4 separate regions of the Homo sapiens genome follow, and regions 2, 3 and 4 are each linked to region 1. Evidence: promoter capture Hi-C in human tissues and cell types (Jung and others, 2019). All regions are on one chromosome and are shown on one strand. The core of a region is centred on a gene start or on the middle of the fragment in contact, and the rest is flanking DNA. Distances in the headings are between cores, read along the strand shown.

What was found. Contacts are between HindIII fragments. The study calls those that stand out against the background at their distance.
Region 2: a contact is called between a fragment that was not itself captured here and the fragment with the promoter of KIF26B in region 1, in 2 of the 25 tissues and cell types used here (H1 embryonic stem cells and hippocampus).
Region 3: a fragment that was not itself captured here is called in contact with the fragment with the promoter of KIF26B in region 1 in 1 of the 25 tissues and cell types used here (lymphoblastoid cells).
Region 4: a contact is called between a fragment that was not itself captured here and the fragment with the promoter of KIF26B in region 1, in 1 of the 25 tissues and cell types used here (dorsolateral prefrontal cortex).

Annotation. Positions count from the first base shown.
Region 1 is chr1:245,153,296-245,156,519 of GRCh38, reverse strand. KIF26B (kinesin family member 26B) reads right to left here and starts at 1,535. Exons shown (of 15, transcript NM_018012.4): 1 at 1,033-1,535; 2 at 1-238. The coding sequence starts at 1,095. RefSeq lists silencers at 1-126, 1,994-2,193 and enhancers at 2,048-2,723, 2,724-3,224. The HindIII fragment of the contact is 11,465 bases long and covers 1-3,224 here.
Region 2 is chr1:245,831,894-245,835,117 of GRCh38, reverse strand. The region is part of intron 10 of SMYD3 (SET and MYND domain containing 3); the gene reads left to right. Among named protein-coding and RNA genes, the nearest start is that of SMYD3-AS1, 280 kb to the left of the region's middle. The HindIII fragment of the contact is 3,161 bases long and covers 202-3,224 here.
Region 3 is chr1:245,815,793-245,819,016 of GRCh38, reverse strand. All of the region lies in intron 10 of SMYD3 (SET and MYND domain containing 3), which reads left to right. Among named protein-coding and RNA genes, the nearest start is that of SMYD3-AS1, 290 kb to the left of the region's middle. RefSeq lists enhancers at 1,569-2,183, 2,184-2,799. The HindIII fragment of the contact is 3,850 bases long and covers 1-3,224 here.
Region 4 is chr1:245,720,931-245,724,154 of GRCh38, reverse strand. No RefSeq gene overlaps it. Among named protein-coding and RNA genes, the nearest start is that of SMYD3-AS1, 390 kb to the left of the region's middle. The HindIII fragment of the contact is 4,564 bases long and covers 1-3,224 here.

The DNA of each region.
Region 1 (3,224 bases), core at 286-2,785:
CCAAGGAGCCCGGCGAACTAGTGCCGATGCCGGGGGAGGCGGGTCCCGGGGAGCCGGTGAACGAGCTCGGGGACGAGGTGCCCGAGCCGGGAGACGGGGTCCCCGAGGAGCCGAGCGCTGAGCCCGCGCCCTCAGGAGTGGGCCGGCTGCCGGCGCGCGACTCCTCGTATGCTTTCCGGTACCAGCTTTCCGGGGAGAAGGGCGCTGCGGGCTTGGTGGGCGAGCAGACTTCATTCACCTGCGGGGAAGACACGCCGGTGTCAGGGGCTGCAAGGCGGCGGGCTGCAGCGCCCAGGAGCTGGGTCATACGTGCGCCACCAAGTACCCGCTCGAACCGCCCACGGGAGTCGGTTGGGGACCTCTCCAAGCCCTGCGGCCAAATTGCCCTCCGTCTGTCTCGTTAATTGTCCTTAAGTGAGTCCCCACCGCCCAGGTGACCCCTGCGCTGGTCCCCGGTGGCCTCCTCCTGGGGTCAGGAAGGGGACTCGCTCGGGGCCGTTTCCACGGCTTCTGCAAGGCGGGGGGGATCCATAGGTTCAGCGCCCCACGCTTTTGAAGCCGGCACCTATCCCAGCAAGATCCCGGGAACAAAATCCTGGAAGACCCTATGGGGGGGGTAGGGGGAGGGCTGTGATTTCAGGATTTTTATTCATACGGGGTCCAACTCTCCGGATCCTGCAGGTAAACGAGAGGCTCTCACGGCTCCAGCTAAACGATCCGAGGTACTGCCCAGCATTCATGGGAAACCCTCCCCTTCGGCTTCACTCTGCCTAGAAGTGCAGGAATGCGGCAAAAGTTACGGGTGCGTGGAAAGGAAGGAACGAGAGGGCTGAAAAAATTCCGAGAGCGAGGCGAGCGTGCGGGCGTCCCCGCGGCCGACCCGCCTCCGCGCACTCACAACCCCGCCAGCCCCGGGGGCGCCTCTGCAGCGGGGGAGAGCTCGGGGCCGGGGCCGCACGATCCCGGGGAAAGGGGGACCTCCGCCGAGATGGGTCTGGTAACGCGTCTCCGCGTCGTACCGTCACAACTTACCCCGTATTTCTTGCCCCTGGTGGAGACCGCAAGCCTCTCTTTATTCCCAGCTACCGAATTCATGGTGGCTTTTCCAGAGGAGAGTATCTAAAGGTTCCACCGACGCTACATCCAGAAGGTCCTCCAACCCAGAAGCGTCCCCCGGCTGCAGGGGGCTGGCTCTCAGCCCTCAGGGCAAGGTTTCTTCAGCGGTGGGGTGGGAGGGAATGAAAGCAAATGGATCCCACAAGTAATAGCACCAATTTGCAGAAAGGGTTGGGGTCGCTGGTTTATTCTTCTCTTCAAAGCATGCTTTTCCTCGTCCCCTTCTGCCTCTTCCAGCCGCACGTCCTCTTGTCACGGCCACATCCACAGAACTGGCATTTTCTTCAGCCAAGTCAGTCCGTGCTCCCCCACGAGGAAAGCGAGGGATACAATCAGGGCTCGCGGCCGCTGCCGGGAAGGTGGGAGAGCCGAGCCGAGTCAGCTGTGGGAACTTGTCTCCTTCACCGAGCTTGGTAACTGAGTTCAAAGAAATTCTCCCAAAATATAAAGATCCAGACTCGGGGAGGAGCCTCGGCGTGTCGCCGAGCCAATATCCGCCGGCCCGTTTCGCCTGACAGTTGCGCGAGGGCCGGGAGAGGGGCGGCTCCGCGTGGCCCGGGAGCGGTCGGCGGTCACAGCGCGCGTGTGCGCCCGGGCGCAGCGCGGAGGAGCCTCGGGAACCTGCCGCCCTCGCCGCGCCGGCCGGGATCCATTTTATGTGGCGGCGCTCGTGCCTGACATTGCGAGGCCTGGAGCCGGGCTGGGGCTGGGGGCGGGGGATCGTCGATCTCGCCGCGTGCGGGGAAGTTCCTGGCGCGCGGCCCGGGCCCGGGGCTCTAATGAAACGCCGCTGCGCGAGCCTGGAGCCCGGGGGCCGCGCGAGCGAGCGTGGCTGGACGGAAATGCGGTGCCCCAGCCTCCCCCGCCCCCAAGTTCTTTCTCTTCCTGACAAGGCTTGCAGGTCTGTCTGTGAAACGCCGTGCAAAAGGGATTGAGTCACAAACAAGTCCACAAACATGCCGGGTCCTCCCCCCGCCCTTTGTTCTCGGAGAGCTGCCGGGCAAACCTTTTCTGGAATTGCCCTACCGACCCCGGGCCGGCCGGGGGGCCACCCTCCCCGACCGCAGCCGCAGGACTAGGGCCCTTGGTCCCCCGCCCGCCCGAGCCCCGGTCTGTGATGGACTAAGCCGCCCGGGGCTGGGACAGGTGAGCCTGGTGACCCAGCGGGCCGCTGCCGGGCAGGGGAAACTGAGGGCTTCGCCGCGCTGCACGCGGACGACTCTGGCCTGGAGAGGGGGTGTGGCGCGAGCTGGCCTTGGCCTCTCCTTGCGTGGGATCGGGCCCCTCGCCCCCCGCCGCCCGTTTCTTCCTGCGCCTGGGCCCCGCGGGGTCTCCGGAGCACCCCGTCATCGCTCCCTCTCCGATCGCCCCCCGCCCCAGTCCCCCGGCGCAGCGCCCAGGAGCGCAGGAAGCCGGCGTATGCCAGGCTCCACACGTGGCTGCTCTGGGGTGTCATTTTTCATTTCACGGGAGGACATTTCTTCTGGTGAGCCAGCAGGTCTGTTTTGTTGTGACCTTTAATTAACACCCCGCGAGACGCCTCTGGAAGGACTGGCCGGGCGCAGGGATCACGTGGGGTGTAACGGCATCTCCGCGCCCGCGGGGAGACCCAGCCCGGGGGTGGGCGAGGGCGCGAAGGACGTTCAGGGCTTTCTGGTCGCTGACTTCCTTCTGAGCTGTGGACGACGCAGGAGGGGGCAAGAAGACAAAGGTTCGGGGTTCTGGAAGCCTGGGGCCACGCCCCCACTCTGCCTTCCTCGGGGACAATTTCTTCTGTGCCTCCCGTGCTCTGCCCCACTCCTCCCCGCTCCAGCTCCTGCGCGGGAATATTTCACAGCCACCAAAGCGAGGTAAAAAGGTCAAAAGGAAGATGGCAAGAACAGAGTGGACGTTTCCGTTACGTTCCCACTTCCAATTTAAAAGCGATCCTATCAATAGGGGACCTTAGGGGGCAGGTACACCTCCAGGCAGCACGCGCCAGCTCCCACCCGCATCTGTATTTCGCGTAGGTGCCGCGAAACACATCATCGCCATTGGCCACGAGCCGCTTATCAGCCAAAAAGCAGCGTGTGGTGAAACGAGCCGGCGAGGCCGCGGGTGGGGAAGGT
Region 2 (3,224 bases), core at 533-3,032, 680 kb before region 1:
CCTGCCCCAGGAACTAGGATTTGAGCCCAAGCATATCCAACTCCAAGTCTCATGCATTTTCTACCGTGCCACTCTTCTTTTGGTAAAAGGTGACAAATTTTTAAAAATGAAAGGAATAGTTGCCCTTATGTATCTGTAAGTTCACTTTCTCATATAATGGAAAAGGCCCATGTTCCTATAACGTGGGAATGTCTTCCCCAAGAGACTCACTATATGAATTGTTGATTTGATGGATGGCCCTATGCGCTTATGTATGCATGTTACCCACCAAATGCTGCTGTCATTTAGTGGGACAAAAATGTAACCCCATACCCTAAAAGACCTTGTCAATAGCCAAGGCAGAGCCTGGGCCTAAATGACACTAGGATCTCCCTTTCTGGCCTCCCATGTACGGGCTGAAATGGTGATTACTCCCTGTGTTGCCGTGATCCTCCGAACAGGAAGATTGCTCCACTGGGGCTGCTCAGAACTGTGAAATGAGGTTGGCTAGGATGTCTATTATAATTTGCTTCCTAAATTTTCAGCTTACCCACCTGCCACTACAGTGTTCCTCAGAGGACGTTAAGATGTAGTATCAGAGAACAGAAGTTCATTCTATTAGAGTCAGGTATGAGTCCTGGCAGTTAAAGGATGCAAAGGTTAGTAGGGGGCTGGGGTGAGCCCATCCTCATTCACAGTGGTCCAATGAGCAGGCAGCTCTGATACGATTTTGGAACTCAGTGTTCGCATGCTTACCTGCCTGTCTGGACCATTTTTACTCCCGGATATCGTGACAAAGGTCAGCCACTTCCATAGGACTGTCAGTATATCCGTGCATAGCTCACAGACGTGCAAGCAGAGCCTTCCCAGGGGTGTATGAGAGGTCAAAGAAATGCATTTAAATGCATCAGAATTGTGACTGAGGATGTCAGAGGCTCTGAAGAGCATTCCTTTATGAGGAAGCTTGCCACAGTCAGGCAGCTGGGACTCAAAGCAGATTCAGCTGGCTCAGCCCTGTTCCTTCCCCTCTATTCATAGGTTCAGGTGAAGAAAGGGCCTTAAGTGAAAAGAGGACTCTGTGATCAAATTAGTTTGGGAAACTGTAGGTTAAATAAGGTTACTGCAGGATGTCCCAGAACCTTTACAGTACACTTGATTCTAAAATAAAAAGCCCATGTTTTTATACTTCAATGTTTCTAAAATTAGAGTAAACTTTGGAATCAGTGTCAGAAGCGGGGATGGGCATAGAGCAAGTTAAATGAGGTGCATGGGGTGCAAGATTCATGCGGGTGAGACCCTGAGAGTGAGTGTGTCTGGCTTCTCACGCCAATGAGCTCCCGGCCCTGGCCAGGACGCTGAGGTTGTCCCTGCCTGCACAAGATGCAGGGACCTAGCCAGTCTTTGTACATGCTTGCCCATTTGATGGCACCTCAGGTGAGTTCTTAAAATAGGGAGTCCACCAAAGTTGAATTTAACTTAGATCCCTTCATTTGCTACACCTTGCAGTGGAAAAACTTGGCAAACACTACCTTAACTAAGGGATCAGGTTAGCTTCACAAGTGAGGCCATGTGGCTGCCACGTCCCCTGTGATAGGATGTAATGAGAAGGGTACTTTACTTCTGTGGCATTTTTTACAAAAATACCTCCATTTAGTCTTGAGAAAAGCAAGAGAGAAACACAGATCAGAGTACATTGTACAGTACATTTGGCCAGGACGCTTCAAGACTGTCAAGAAAAGATTGAGAAACTGCCACAGAGCAGAGGAGACTGAGGCAACATGACAACTGAATGCATTGTTGTCAGAACAGAACATAAAAGAGACGTGGGTAGATGCACGGGTGAAATCTAAGTAAAGCCTGGGGTTTAGTTAATAGTCACATACCAACATTTGCTTCTTAGTTTTGACAAATGTTCCTTGGTAATGTAAGATGTTAGCAACAGAGGACTGGGTAAAGGGTGTATAGGAACACTCTACTATCTTTGCAACTTTTCTGTAAATCTAAAATTATTCCAAAATGTGTATTTTAAAAACATTGTTATGAATCAGCATTATAAAAGCAGGTTTTTTTTTTTTTTTTGTCACATATTCCGGGCAGTAATTAAAGGCAACAGAGATTGCCAAATGTCTAGGAATGGATCGTGGAAGCTTCACTGTGCGGAGAAGGTGGTTTGACAGTTCTTGGAATGCTGATTCCCCCATTATGAAGAACTATCACTCCATCTCCAAGAATCTGTCAAGAGCTTCCAGCTGACACTTAGCAAAGTCAATACCTTTCAGTCACGTTATTCAATTAAGGAAAATATGAAACAATAAGCTTATAAAAAAAGGCACATGAAACTTGAATATTTCTTTACAGGATTCAACATTATGTTGTTTATTCTAAGGATACAAAGGAGACCAAGATCATAAGTTTATGAAAAGCAACTTGTCCCTCTAAGATTCCATATAACTTCTAATGGTCAAAAGTGACTCAGTGAACCCTTAGACTCAGATGGCAAAGAGTGATTAGATGCAAACTGTAACTGAGATACTAAAGAAGAAATCCTGAGTGCTCATCTAGATAAATGTAGGCTCTTACTGTGTGTTAAAAACAAAACTATATTACTTATAATCAGGTGTCGTCTTCTCCTCAACTCTCAAAAAAAAAAAAACAAAAAAAACATTAAATCGATGAGGAGCTTAAAACTGATGATGTCTTAGAATCTTAGAAATAAGACAGGGGTGGAATGCATTGTCCCAAACTTAACTGCCCATGGAACCCTGGAGTTCCATGGAACACACTTTGGGAAAGATTGCTCCATCCTGTTTGCTGCCTGTTCATTTGATGTCGGATAAATTCCCAGCCTGAAGGCTGTCAGGGTTGCAGCCATTAAATTTCAGAAGGATTGTGCTAGGCAGACATCTTTTATTGAGAAGATCTGAACCCAGAGACACTCATTATATAAACGAGCCCCGAAGGGTGAGACCCAGCCTCTTGACCAGGCATTATTGAGCCAGGCTTTAGGTTAGATGAGACAGACAGATCCTTTCTGGACTGAATGTGGTAAAAGATGCCCCAGACCTGCCCATTCATTAGAAAGTAAGCCCAAAAAGCGTGGAGGTAGACAAAGTTGGCAAAGGCCTCCCCTCCCTCCTCCAAGAAAGGCAGTGAGCTTTAGGAAACTGATATCTGTTACTCAGAGAAAAAACAAACTGTACTCTTTGACCGTTGATTTAGGCAATGTCCGGCAAAGTTTCCAATTC
Region 3 (3,224 bases), core at 451-2,950, 660 kb before region 1:
TTCCTGGGTATCCTTGTTGACTTTCTGTCTCGTTGATCTGTCTGATGTTGACAGTGGGGTGTTAAAGTCTCCCATTATTAATGTGTGGGAGTCTAAGTCTCTTTGCAGGTCACTCAGGACTTGCTTTATGAATCTGGGTGCTCCTGTATTGGATGCATATATATTTAGGATAGTTAGCTCTTCTTGTTGAATTCATCCCTTTACCATTATGTAATGGCCTTCTTTGTCTCTTTTGATCTTTGTTGGTTTAAAGTCTGTTTTATCAGACTAGGATTGCAACCCCTGCCTTTTTTTTGTTTTCCATTTGCTTGGTAGATCTTCCTCCATCCTTTTATTTTGAGCCTATGTGTGTCTCTGCTCGTGAGATGGGTTTCCTGAATACAGCACACTGATGGGTCTTGACTCTTTATCCAATTTGCCAGTCTGTGTCTTTTAATTGGAGCATTTAGTCCATTTACGTTTAAAGTTAATATTGTTATGTGTGAATTTGATCCTGTCATTATGATGTTAGCTGGTTATTTTGCTCGTTAGTTGATGCAGTTTCTTCCTAGTCTCAATGGTCTTTACATTTTGGCATGATTTTGCAGTGGCTGGTACCGGTTGTTCCTTTCGATGTTTAGCGCTTCCTTCAGGAGCTCTTTTAGGGCAGGCCTGGTGGTGACAAAATCTCTCAGCATTTGCTTGTCTGTAAAGTATTTTATTTCTCCTTCACTTATGAAGCTTAGTTTGGCTGGATATGAAATTCTGGGTTGAAAATTCTTTTTAAGAATGTTGAATATTGCTCCCCACTCTCTTCTGGCTTGTAGGGTTTCTGCTGAGAGATCCGCTGTTAGTCTGATGGGCTTCCCTTTGAGGGTAACCCGATCTTTCTCTCTGGCTGCCCTTAACATTTTTTCCTTCATTTCAACTTTGGTGAATCTGACAATTATGTGTCTTGGAGTTGCTCTTCTCGAGGAGTATCTTTGTGGCGTTCTCTGTATTTCCTGAATCTGAATGTTGGCCTGCCTTGCTAGATTGGGGAAGTTCTCCTGGATAATATCCTGCAGAGTGCTTTCCAACTTGTTTCCATTCTCCCCATCACTTTCAGGTACACCAATCAGACGTAGATTTGGTCTTTTCACATAGTCCCATATTTCTTGGAGGCGTTGCTCATTTCTTTTTATTCTTTTTTCTCTAAACTTCCCTTCTCACTTCATTTCATTCATTTCATCTTCCATCACTGATACCCTTTCTTCCAGTTGATCACATCGGCTCCTGAGGCTTCTGCATTCTTCACATAGTTCTCGAGCCTTGGTTTTCAGCTCCATCAGCTCCTTTAAGCACTTCTCTGTATTGGTTATTCTAGTTATACATTCTTCTAAATTTTTTTCAAAGTTTTCAACTTCTTTGCCTTTGGTTTGAATGTCCTCCCATAGCTCAGAGTAATTTGATCGTCTGAAGCCTTCTTCTCTCAGGTCATCAAAGTCATTCTCCGTCCAGCTTTGTTCCGTTGCTGGTGAGGAACTGCGTTCCTTTGGAGGAGGAGAGGTGCTCTGCTTTTTAGAGTTTCCAGTTTTTCTGTTCTGTTTTTTCCCCATCTTTGTGGTTTTATCTACTTTTGGTCTTTGATGATGGTGATGTACAGATGGGTTTTTGGTGTGGATGTGCTTTCTGTTTGTTAGTTTTCCTTCTAACAGGCAGGACCCTCAGCTGCAGGGCTGTTGGAATACCCTGCCATGTGAGGTGTCAGTGTGCCCCTGCTGGGGGGTGCCTCCCAGTTAGGCTGCTCGGGGGTCAGGGGTCAGGGACCCACTTGAGGAGGCAGTCTGCCCGTTCTCAGATCTCCAGCTGCGTGCTGGGAGAACCACTGCTCTCTTCAAAGCTGTCAGACAGGGACACTTAAGTCTGCAGAGGTTACTGCTGTGTTTTTGTTTGTCTGTGCCCTGCCCCCAGAGGTGGAGCCTACAGAGGCAGGCAGGCCTCCTTGAGCTGTGGTGGGCTCCACCCAGTTCGAGCTTCCCGGCTGCTTTGTTTACCTAAGCAAGCCTGGGCAATGGCGGGCGCCCCTCCCCCAGCCTCGCTGCCGCCTTGCAGTTTGATCTCAGACTGCTGTGCTGGCAATCAGCGAGACTCCGTCGGGTAGGACCCTCCGAGCCAGATGCGGGATATAATCTCGTGGTGCGCCGTTTTTTAGGCCGGTCCGAAAAGCGCAATATTCGGGTGGGAGTGACCCGATTTTCCAGGTGCGTCCGTCACCCCTTTCTTTGACTAGGAAAGGGAACTCCCTGACCCCTGGCGCTTCCCGAGTGAGGCATTGCCTTACCCTGCTTCGGCTCGCGCACGGTGCGCGCACCCACTGACCTGTGCCCACTGTCTGGCACTCCCTAGTGAGATGAACCCGGTACCTCAGATGGAAATGCAGAAATCACCGTCTTCTATGTCACTCACGCTGGGAGCTGTAGACTGGAGCTGTTCCTATTCGGCCATCTTGGCTCCTCTTTTTTTTTTTTTTTTTTTTTTACATAGATGAAGGGGACCTCTCATAATAGATGGCACCTTGAGTTGGGTTGTAGCTGGCTTTTGCAGTTGCTTAGATGAGTATTGCATTGTTCCAGTCGTCCTATTCTGAAATGTGTCTGAGAATCCTGTTTTAGAGCCAAGCTCCATTCTAGCAAACAGTAGTGCAAGCCCCACTCCTTGGCCTGATTGATACAGTAATGGCACTGTCCACCCCCTAGCCACCCCGGGAGTACTCTCTGTGGGGAGTTTGCTGCTGCCGTCTAAACTGAAATGGACTTGATTTTCTCTTCTGAGTAGATGCTCAGCTGTAATCCATTGGGAGAAAATTCTTGATTTCTTGGGATATTTAGGAAGGCTAGCGACAGGTAGGAGCTTCTTTATTTATTATGCTTTTCTCTAGAAGCTTCATTGAATACATTATCTTCTGCCCCACACCCCAGGGCTTTGACCAAAATATCCTTGAGATACTGTGGCCCATATTCGGTCACAGAGGTGCACTGTTCTTTTGAAAGAATGGCATGCCGCAACTTACCTACTCACCTACAGAAGGTGAGTGCTGCAAGGCAGTCCCAGTAGGCACTTGGAGTGGAGCTTTGATGAATCCGAAGGATCATGGGCTTTGGAATCACAAGACCCAGGTCCAAGGCCTGATCTCTGCTTCTTACCAGCAGGCTGTGAAGGCTGTGAAACACTTCAAAGGCCCGTAATTTCTCAGTTTGTAAAAA
Region 4 (3,224 bases), core at 469-2,968, 570 kb before region 1:
AAAGAAGCAGCCTGGCCGCGATCTACCACAGCAGCTGGCTGCGCGGCATGGCGCTGAATTCCTTTTGGTCTGGACCTTGCAGACTCCTGGAGTTGGCAGGCCAAAATGGCTGACTTGAGCCATGTAGATGGCGGCTGCCCCTCCCCCTGGGAACTTGGTCATCTCCGGCAATCTCCAGCCTGCTCCCACAGGCTGGCTAGAATTCCAAGTCAGTGGGTTTTAACTCGTGAGGTGCTATGGGAGTGGGGCCTGCAGGATGACGCTGCTTAGTGTCCTGGCTTTAGCCCCCTTCCTAGGGGAAAGCTTGGAAGATCTCCTGTCTCACTGGAATTCCCGGGGTGGAGTATGCAAGAAACTCCTGGGTCTTTGTGCATGGCCAAGCAGCTGCGAGAGTTCACACAGCTCTGTGCTTGGGAACCAAGGCCTTGCTGGGTGCACAAGGGGATCTCCTGATCTGCGGGTTGCAAAGATCCATGGGAAAAGCATGGCTTCCTGGGGGGGCGTTGTACAATCACTCACCACCTTTCTTGCCTGGGGTGAGGGCTCACCTGGTTCCACCCCGCTCAAGGGTGGGCTGTTGCCCCACCCTGCTTTTCCTCACTCTCTTGGGTTGCACGGACCACCCAGGCAGGCCCAATGCAATGGTTATTTTGTGGTCTTCTCCTTCTTATTTCCTTCCTTCCTGTCTTTCTTTTAGTGAAAGTGATTTTCTCTGGTGGTAGGATTTAATTTCTTGCTTTTTATTTTTGGCATATCCATTGTATGTTTTTTGATTTGAGGTTACCATTAGGCTTACAAATAATATCTATTACCCATTATTTTAAGACTGCTTGCATAAACAAAGAAGCAAAAAATCCTAATAATGGTTAGGTTAACTACACTTTAATTTCATCCCGTGTTTTTTAACTTTTTAAATTTATATATTAAATTTATATATTTTTAACTTTTAAATGTATGTATTATTGTATTGTCTATGTCTTGAATAGTTGTAGTTATTATTTTTTATTAGTTCATCTTTTAGTCTTTTCTACTCAAGGTAAGAGTAGTTTACAAGCCAGAGTTACAATGTTTAATATTCTGTGTTTTTCTGTGTGCTTACTATTACCAGTAAGTTTTGTATTTTCAGATGATTTCTTATTGCTCATTAACATCCTTTTCTTTCTGATTGAAATACTTCCTTTAACATTTCTTGTAGGACAGTTCTAGTCTTTGTTGAAATCCCTCAGCCTTTGTTTATCTGAGAAAGTATTCTTCCTTCATGTATGAAGGATATTTTCGATAGATATTCTATTCTAGGGTAAAAGTTTTTTTCCTTCAGCACTTTAAATATGCTCTTCTCGACTATCAGTTCTCCACTGAGAAGTCGGCTGCTAGCTATATTGAAACTCCAATGGGTTATTTGTTTCTTTTATTTTGCTGCTTTTAGGATCTTTTCTTTATTGTTGACCTTTGGGAGTTTGATTTTTAAATGCTTCGAGGTAGTCTTCTTTGAGTTAAATCTGCTTGGTGTTCTGTAGCCTTCTTTTACTTAGATATTGATATCTTCTGGGTTTGAGGTGTTCTCTGTTAACCCTTTGAATAAACTTTCTATCCCTATCTCCTTCTCTACCTCCTCTTTAAGGCCAATAACGGATGCATTCTTCAGTATGTCATTTGCAATTTCAGCTCCAGAATTTCTGCTTGATTCTTTTTAATTATTTTAATCTCTTTGTTCAATTTATGTGATAGAATTCTGAATTCCATTTCTGTGTTATCTTGAATTTCTCAGAGTTTCCTCAAAATGGCTGTTTTGAATTCTCTGTCTGAAAAGTTGCATATCTCTGTTTCTCTGGGATTGTTCCCTGATGCCTGATTTAGTTCATTTGGTGAGGCCACATTTTCCTGAATGGTTTTGATGCTTGTGGATGTTCTTTGGTGTCTGGGCATTGAAGAGTTAGGTACTTATAGTCTTTGCAATCTGGGCTGTTTGTGCCTGTTCTTCTTGGGAAGGCTTTTGAGGTATTTGAAAGGACTTGGGTGTGTTATCTAAGTCATGTTTGTATTACAAGGCACCCCAAGCCTGGTAACACTGTGGTTCTTGCAGACTCATAGAGGTACCACCTTTGTGGTCTTGGATAAGATCTGCAAGCGTTCTCTGGATACCAAGCAAAGATTCTTGTTCTCTTCCCTTACTTTCTCCCAAACAAACATAGTCTCTCTCTCTGTGCTGAGCTACCTGGAGTTGGGTGTGAGGTGACACAAGCTCCCCTGTGGCCACTATCACTGGGGCTGCACTGGTCAGACCTGAAGCCAGCACAGTAGTGAGTTTCACCCAAGGCCTGCTAGAAGCACTACCTGGCTATGGCCTATATTTGCTCGAGGCCCTGGGGCTTTACAGTAAGCAGGTGGTGAAGCCAACCAGGCATGTGTCCTTCTCTTCAGGGCATTGGGTTCCCTTAGGCCCTGGGCAGGTCCAGAGGTGCTGTCCAGGAGCCACGTACTGGAACCAAAATCCTTAGAAATATACCTGGTGTTCTATTCTACTGCAGCTGAGCTGGCACTCAAACCATGAGTCCCAGCTCTTCCCACTCTTTCGTCCCGTTTCCACAGGCAGCCCATGGCTACCACCACCTGGATATTACTTGGATATTGCTGCTGGTTATTCAGGACCCAGGAGCTCTTTAGCCAGCAGGTGATGGATCCTGATAGCACTGGGTCCTTCCTTTCAAAGCAGTGGGTTCCCTTTTGGCCCTGGGTGTGTCTGGAAATGTCATCCAGGAGGAAGGACCTGAAATGGGGACTTCACAACTCTGACTAGTGCCCTATCCTACTTTGGGTGAGCTGGTACCCAAGATGTAAGACAAAGTTCTCTTTACTCTTTACTCTTCCCTCCCCTCTCCTCAAGCAGAATGGAGGGATCTCTTTTGGAGCCAAGAGCTGTGCTGCCTGGGGTTGGGGAAGGACTGGTGCAAACACTCCTTTAGCTGTGTTGGGTGGTGTCTCAGTAGGTCGCATGCTCCCCAAGCCCACTGGCTTCGAGCCCAGCTCAGCACTAGGACTTGCCTAAGAGTTACAGTCCTTGTGGTATAGACTGCCTTTTAGGTTTATTTATGGCCCCAGAGCACTTTAGCCCATGGTGGTGAGGCTTGCTGGAACTCAGATTCCCCCCACGGGGACAGCGGTTCCCCTCCAGCTTGGGCCCATCTGAATGCTCCCTCCCTGGGCGTTCATCAGTTGAGTTCAGT